Regions from separate parts of the Homo sapiens genome. Here region 1 is linked to region 2. The links are contacts of gene promoters, found by promoter capture Hi-C in blood cells and fetal thymus (Javierre and others, 2016). All regions are on one chromosome and are shown on one strand. The core of a region is centred on a gene start or on the middle of the fragment in contact, and the rest is flanking DNA. Distances in the headings are between cores, read along the strand shown.

Evidence for each region. Contacts are between HindIII fragments. The CHiCAGO score rates a contact against its expected background, and 5 or more counts as called.
Region 1: a contact is called between a fragment that was not itself captured here and the fragment with the promoter of SUV39H2 in region 2, in 6 of 17 cell types (fetal thymus, naive CD4 T cells, total CD8 T cells and 3 more). The highest score is 7.5, in fetal thymus.

Annotation. Positions count from the first base shown.
Region 1 is chr10:14,182,053-14,184,983 of GRCh38, reverse strand. All of the region lies in intron 2 of FRMD4A (FERM domain containing 4A), which reads left to right. It overlaps LOC124902378 (a long non-coding RNA gene), which reads right to left and starts at 2,094. Exons shown (of 2, transcript XR_007062060.1): 1 at 2,013-2,094; 2 at 1-154. The HindIII fragment of the contact is 2,649 bases long and covers 273-2,921 here.
Region 2 is chr10:14,877,416-14,880,115 of GRCh38, reverse strand. SUV39H2 (SUV39H2 histone lysine methyltransferase) reads right to left here and starts at 1,250. Exons shown (of 6, transcript NM_001193424.2): 1 at 1,197-1,250. The coding sequence starts at 1,227. SUV39H2-DT (SUV39H2 divergent transcript) reads left to right here and starts at 1,457. Exons shown (of 1, transcript NR_186426.1): 1 at 1,457-2,700. RefSeq lists a silencer at 777-1,516. The HindIII fragment of the contact is 2,774 bases long and covers 1-2,465 here.

The DNA of each region.
Region 1 (2,931 bases), core at 348-2,847, 700 kb after region 2:
CTGATTGTGTAACTGTCTAAACAAATTCAGACATGAAAGGGAAACACCCTACACGACTTTAGCGGTCGCGTTTGTTTGTGCTCCATCGCAGTACCCACGCAGTTGTATCCGGGCAGGCCATGCACGAAGATGTGGTAAGGATATCTATCATTTCCTTAAAAAATAAAAAATAAATAAATAAGAAAATGCGCCTTTATTCTCCAAACTTCTCTTCTTTCATATCTGACTTATAGCCCATGAGCCACACATTTGGGCTACTTTGAAAGAAAGCTTAGGGGGATTGATTTCACTGAGAGGTAGAAACAGAAGCCATGCTCTGCCCGGCCTGGACGTGTGCTTCTGGGAACGTTCAGAGGCTCCTCAGGAGACGGGCACGGTGCCTTGTATAAAGCACTTCAGCCTTTGTTGAGCAAACAAATTCCCTTAAATTGGAACAACAACAAAAAATACCTTTTTTAACATTGGAGAAGTAGTAATTTCTCCATTTTTTTTAACATAATAGAATAGAAAGTTGGCTAAGAGAAGCTAGATAAATAACTGAGATTACTCAACAAGCTGGGTATAGAAAATGGGTTCAGTTGCAGTGGCTCACGCCTGTAATCCATCCCAGCACTTTGGGTCAGGAGTTCGAGACCAGCCTGGCCAACATGGTGAAACCCCATCTCTACTAAAAAAAAAAAAAAAATTAACCGGTTGTGGTGGTATGCACCTGTAATCCCAGCAACTCTGGAGGCTGAGGCAGGAGAATCGCTTGAACCCAGGAGGCAGAGTTTGCAGTGAGCCGAGATGGCACCACCGCGCTCCAGCCTGGGCAACAGAGAGTGAGACTCTCTCAAAAAAAAAAAAAAAAAAAAAAAAGAAAAGAAAAGAAAAACAAAAAAGGAAATGTGTTAAGATGTAAGCGCTTGGTGATCTACTTTTAGAAGGTCCAACTCCTTTCTCCAAACCATGACCAGGTAAAAACATGCTTGGAAACCATAGCAAAGTTTTCAAATTAAGCCTTTGTTTCTGGAGCTATTTTCCATATCTCATAATTTCTCTTTGTTCTTATGATTACTATGATGTTTAAAGTCAATACTGTTCACAAAGTTTGGTTTCTTAGGTTATGCTGAGGTACTGAGTCAGAAAAATCATGTCTTACTAAAATTGAGACAGAAATATTCTTCACACCTGATCAAAATGCCAACTTGGCTTTATGACCTCAGGCATGAGTGTCTCTGTTTATGAACATTTTTAAAAGACAGTAGTTTTGCTTTTAATGAACATATTTAGATACCATGGTTAAGATTCAATTTGCAAAATAGAGTGCATTTCCAGGTTTGGGAGTAAAAGATGCCCATCAATTTCATTATTTTGACACAGTGAGAAATTGAATCAAGCAATTACTTTCCTTTGTGCCTCAGGTTGAAGCTGGCCAAGGAAATTTAAGACACAGGAGTGATTTGAAAAAAAAAAAAGAAACAACTCCTTAGAGCTATGAAGATAATGCACATTGAGGCACATTTATTGTTTGAAAGGTCACATTGTAAACATAATTCCATTATTAGACAATCCCAGTACTGTTAAAGGGACCATCAAACACTCTGCAGGCATGGCCCATTCCAACTTGTAAAATTAGAATAACTTAGAAGAATGAGCTTTTATAACATAAAGGAATTTCCTGCAGATTTCTAAATAAATTAATGTGTAACTTTCCAAGACACCACTAATGATATAAAGTGAACTCTGTCTGCACATTATTTCATTCGTGCATGACACATAACTTTTCAAATAAAGTGAGGTGTAAATTCAATTTTAAATTAAGAAAAATCGAGTCTAAGACCATATAATCTGGAGATCACTTATCAGCACTCTGTAAACTTCAGTGTTCTTGTTTTTCTCTTCAAATATGTTACTGCCTAGCTCTATGCTTTTTCAGCATGGGTCAGTCTCTCTGTCTGAAGTCCTCCCTCACCTCCTACACATCTCCACCCCATCCTGCTTACGACAGCCCCACGCACCAACATCCTAACCTCCTCCAGATGGTCAAAGCCACCTTCAAGAATAGGATTTCCCTTGAAGCAGCCTAATCAACAATCCCAGGTGAAATGAGTACTTCTCCCAACGTTTGCTTCCACTTGAATTGTTCAACCCTCCTGCTAGTTCTCACTCAGTAGAATTCAGAAGGTTTCTGTGATTGTTACCTCTAATCCTTGGAGTTCTTAAATTTTTCAACAGCCTTCACCTGTACTCTTCACACTGGTAACCTCAGGGCAGAGCCCCCGGTCGAACCTGCCTTAAAGGAGGTTCTCAGCATATGTGTCCACCTTGAAGGAACCTAGGAACATCCCTGTACCAAGGAGTTCATGAGTTACTTTTAGGGTAGATGATGGGGGTCTCTTTCACACCCCTACCATGAAGGATAGGCCAATTAGAGAAAAAAAAAATTTTTGTCTTGTCAGACTTCTCTTGCTCTGTTGTCCAGGCTGGAGTGCAGTGGCAAGATCAGAGATCACTGCAGCCTCAAACTCCTGGGCTCAAACTCTCCTCCTGCCTTAGCCCTCCAAGTAGCTGAAACTATAGGCATGTGCCACCTTGCCTGGCTATTATTATTATTTTTTATTTTTTGTAGAGACAGTGTCTTCTTATGTTACCCAAGCTGGTCTTGAACTACTGGCCCCAAGCAATTTCATTGCCTGAGCCTCCGAAAGCACTGGGATTCCAGGCATGTGCTACTGCACCCTATCTCTCTCTCTTTTTAAAAACACAGCTTGAGAGTTCAAAGAAGTCTTAGAAGCAGAAACTGTGTCAACTCCCATCTCCATTGATCACTATCATTTTTGTCCCCTCCCCAGTCTAGGTTTGATAAACAATTATACGGCAGTTTGGTAGTAGTGTTGGGGTTGCCTCTTATAAAGAAAAAGCCACAAATAAACAAAGCTTTTGAAAGTG
Region 2 (2,700 bases), core at 1-2,500:
AGTCCCTTCCATCTACAAAAACTAGAGAACGTTTTGTGTTAAGCTGACCTCATTAAGGGAATCACGTATAAAGGAGGTTCCTCTTATCTACTCAAGGTGTGTTTGTGTGCTTTTCCTAAACATTTTTATCTAGTTGAGGATTCAAAACACAACCCGCAAAGGAAATGCTCTTTGAAAATTAAAAAAAAAAAAAAAGTGAACATGAAAAACTGCAAACACGTGGTTAAAAAAAGAAAGACAATCTCTCGACAGTCTCCAGTAATGCAGAAAAAGATTTCACTGACAAAATTAAATAGTTCATGACCACCACAAACACCTTCCGCTGGTTCACAGTAACCCCTGACATTCTCCAAGGAGAAAAATTCAGGGATAATGAGGTCATAATCCCAGCGGAGAGGAGACGAGCTTGAAAACACCTTTACATTCCGGAACGCACGGAAAAGTTCCAGGCTCTCAAAGCGTGCGCGACACCAACACCCCCCGACGCCCACACCCACGCGCGCTCGGTGCCCAGTTCCCCGGTGCCCAATTCCCCAGCGTCCACAGAAATAACACCAAGCTCCCGGTGGGTGAAAGAGTTACCGTAAGCCAGAGGCTGCAACCTCAAATACCCACTTTCTGGGCGATTCTCCAACGAGGCACTCAACCTCCTAGCGTGTCCGCCTTGGGGGGGATTCCTCGCTTATCCCCTTTCTTAGCACACAGGCGCCCCGATTTACTCTCCCCCTCTGATATTAAGGTCATGTTCACGCCGGCGGGCGTCGCTTCCCGCCTCCCACTTCAAAGGCCCGGGCGCATGCCGCACGCCGCGCTCGAACCACCACAAAGGAGCCAGTCGCAGCCGTGCCCCCCGGACCTCCAACCGGGGACTGCCGGGGAGCGGCCTCGAAGCCCGAGGCCGCCACGGGAGACGCGGAGGGGGCCGGGCCGAGCGGGCGGAGAGGCCACGCTCCACTTCCGAAGTGCCCCAGGCTCGGACAGTGCCCACCTCCGCGGCGGGAGCCGGCCGGGCAGGGAGGCGGGTCAGCGGCCTGGGGGAGGATAGGCGTCCGCAGCGTGCGTCCCGGAGTTGGGGTCGCGGCGGGCGGGGAACCGCCACGTCGCCATCTGGCTGGCCCGCGGGACGGCCCCGCCGCCCGGGCCTTGGGAGCTTGCCTGGGAACAGGGAAGGCGAGGGGGCCGCGCTCCAGCCTCACCTCCTCGCGCCTCGGCCCCGACCGCCGCCATCTTGTAGAGCTTTCATTCAAACTGGCGCGGTCTGACGGGATAGCTCAGCTGGCCCGACGCCCCGCCCCTGGCCGGCCCGCGCGGGACTTGGGGGCCGGGGCTTGTTGGGGGACGGAACCCGCACGGCGTCCTGACGTCACTGGCGGCCGACCCCCCGCCGCGGCGGCCAGCGCGCCTGCGCCCCAAAGCTAGGCCCGGCCCCAAGCGCGAGGAGCGGGGCGGGGCGAGCGCGCGTGCTCCCGGATCCTCGGCAGTGTCCGGCGCCCCCTTCCCTTCGCCAGGCCCGTTTGGCGCCTTCACTCGGGAAGACGTCGGCCAGGACTTTGCGCTTTGGAGACGTCTTACTTCGGCAGCACTCGCACACTGCGAGATCCGACACGGGCAGCGGGGACCTAGGGAGCCGGGGACGCTGCCTGTCGGGTACGGTTCCGCAGCTACCGCAGCCCCGTGGGCCATGGTTAGTCTCCCCCCGACACCGCTCCCTCTAGAGCTCCGGGCTTCGGAAGCGGCTGCACGTGGGCATGGCTGGAGAGGTTCCGCTGGCTTGGGGCAGTCGCCGGGATTCCGACTGGTTGGTGTGGGGTGTGGCCTGTGCTATCCAGCTCCCAGCTGATCCTAATGTGCGGCACAGCGGAAACCACCGGTCCACATCAGTGCTTCTCACTTAAAGGGGCTTACGAATCGTCGGGGGTGGGGGAGCTGGACTTGGAATTTTTTAAGAGATGAGGTCTCACTCTGTCACCCAGGCTGGAGTGCAGTGGCGCGATTACGGCTCACTGCAGACTAGACCTCCTGGGCTCAACTTTAATGTAAATTGGGATTGGGTAGGTCTGTAAGGGGACCCGAGCTCCCCTCCCATGTTGTTGCCAAGCTCCTGAGCTCGGCCTGGTGGCGGGTGGGGGCCGGGAGGAGAAGGACACGTTAGTAAGGAAGCTGCAGGACGACTCCAGGGGCCTCCCACCTGGTCTCCACCCCCCTCCCCCACCCATTCTTGACGCTGCATCCATGATTGTTCTAAACAACCTAAAGCAGAAATCTTAGAGCAAATAACGAAAACTGGCAGAAGGCCATTTGATATCTCCTTAAAAAATTCATGTAAAAAATTACATAAACGTTTCAAAGCAGTATGTATAAATTTGAAATACTGGAAATGAACGCAGACCATTAAAGGAATAGTTAATTATTTGATTCCATTATGAAATACTGTCTAGCCGTCTTAAAAAGGTGTTCATGAAGCTTTTAGTATTCAGCAAAACCAAAACAAATCCCCCTGAAATATAGTTTTAACTATGGAAGAAAAAAATGTATAGGAAAATAACGAAATAGCCTTTTCGGAGTGATTTTCTTTTTAACTTCTCGTTTTTAAATATTTAATCATTTTCTACGATGGGAAACACCACTTCCTCACACACACTCATGCTCCCAGACTTTATTTAGCTACAAACGGCATCATAATACAAATACTGTTCTGCA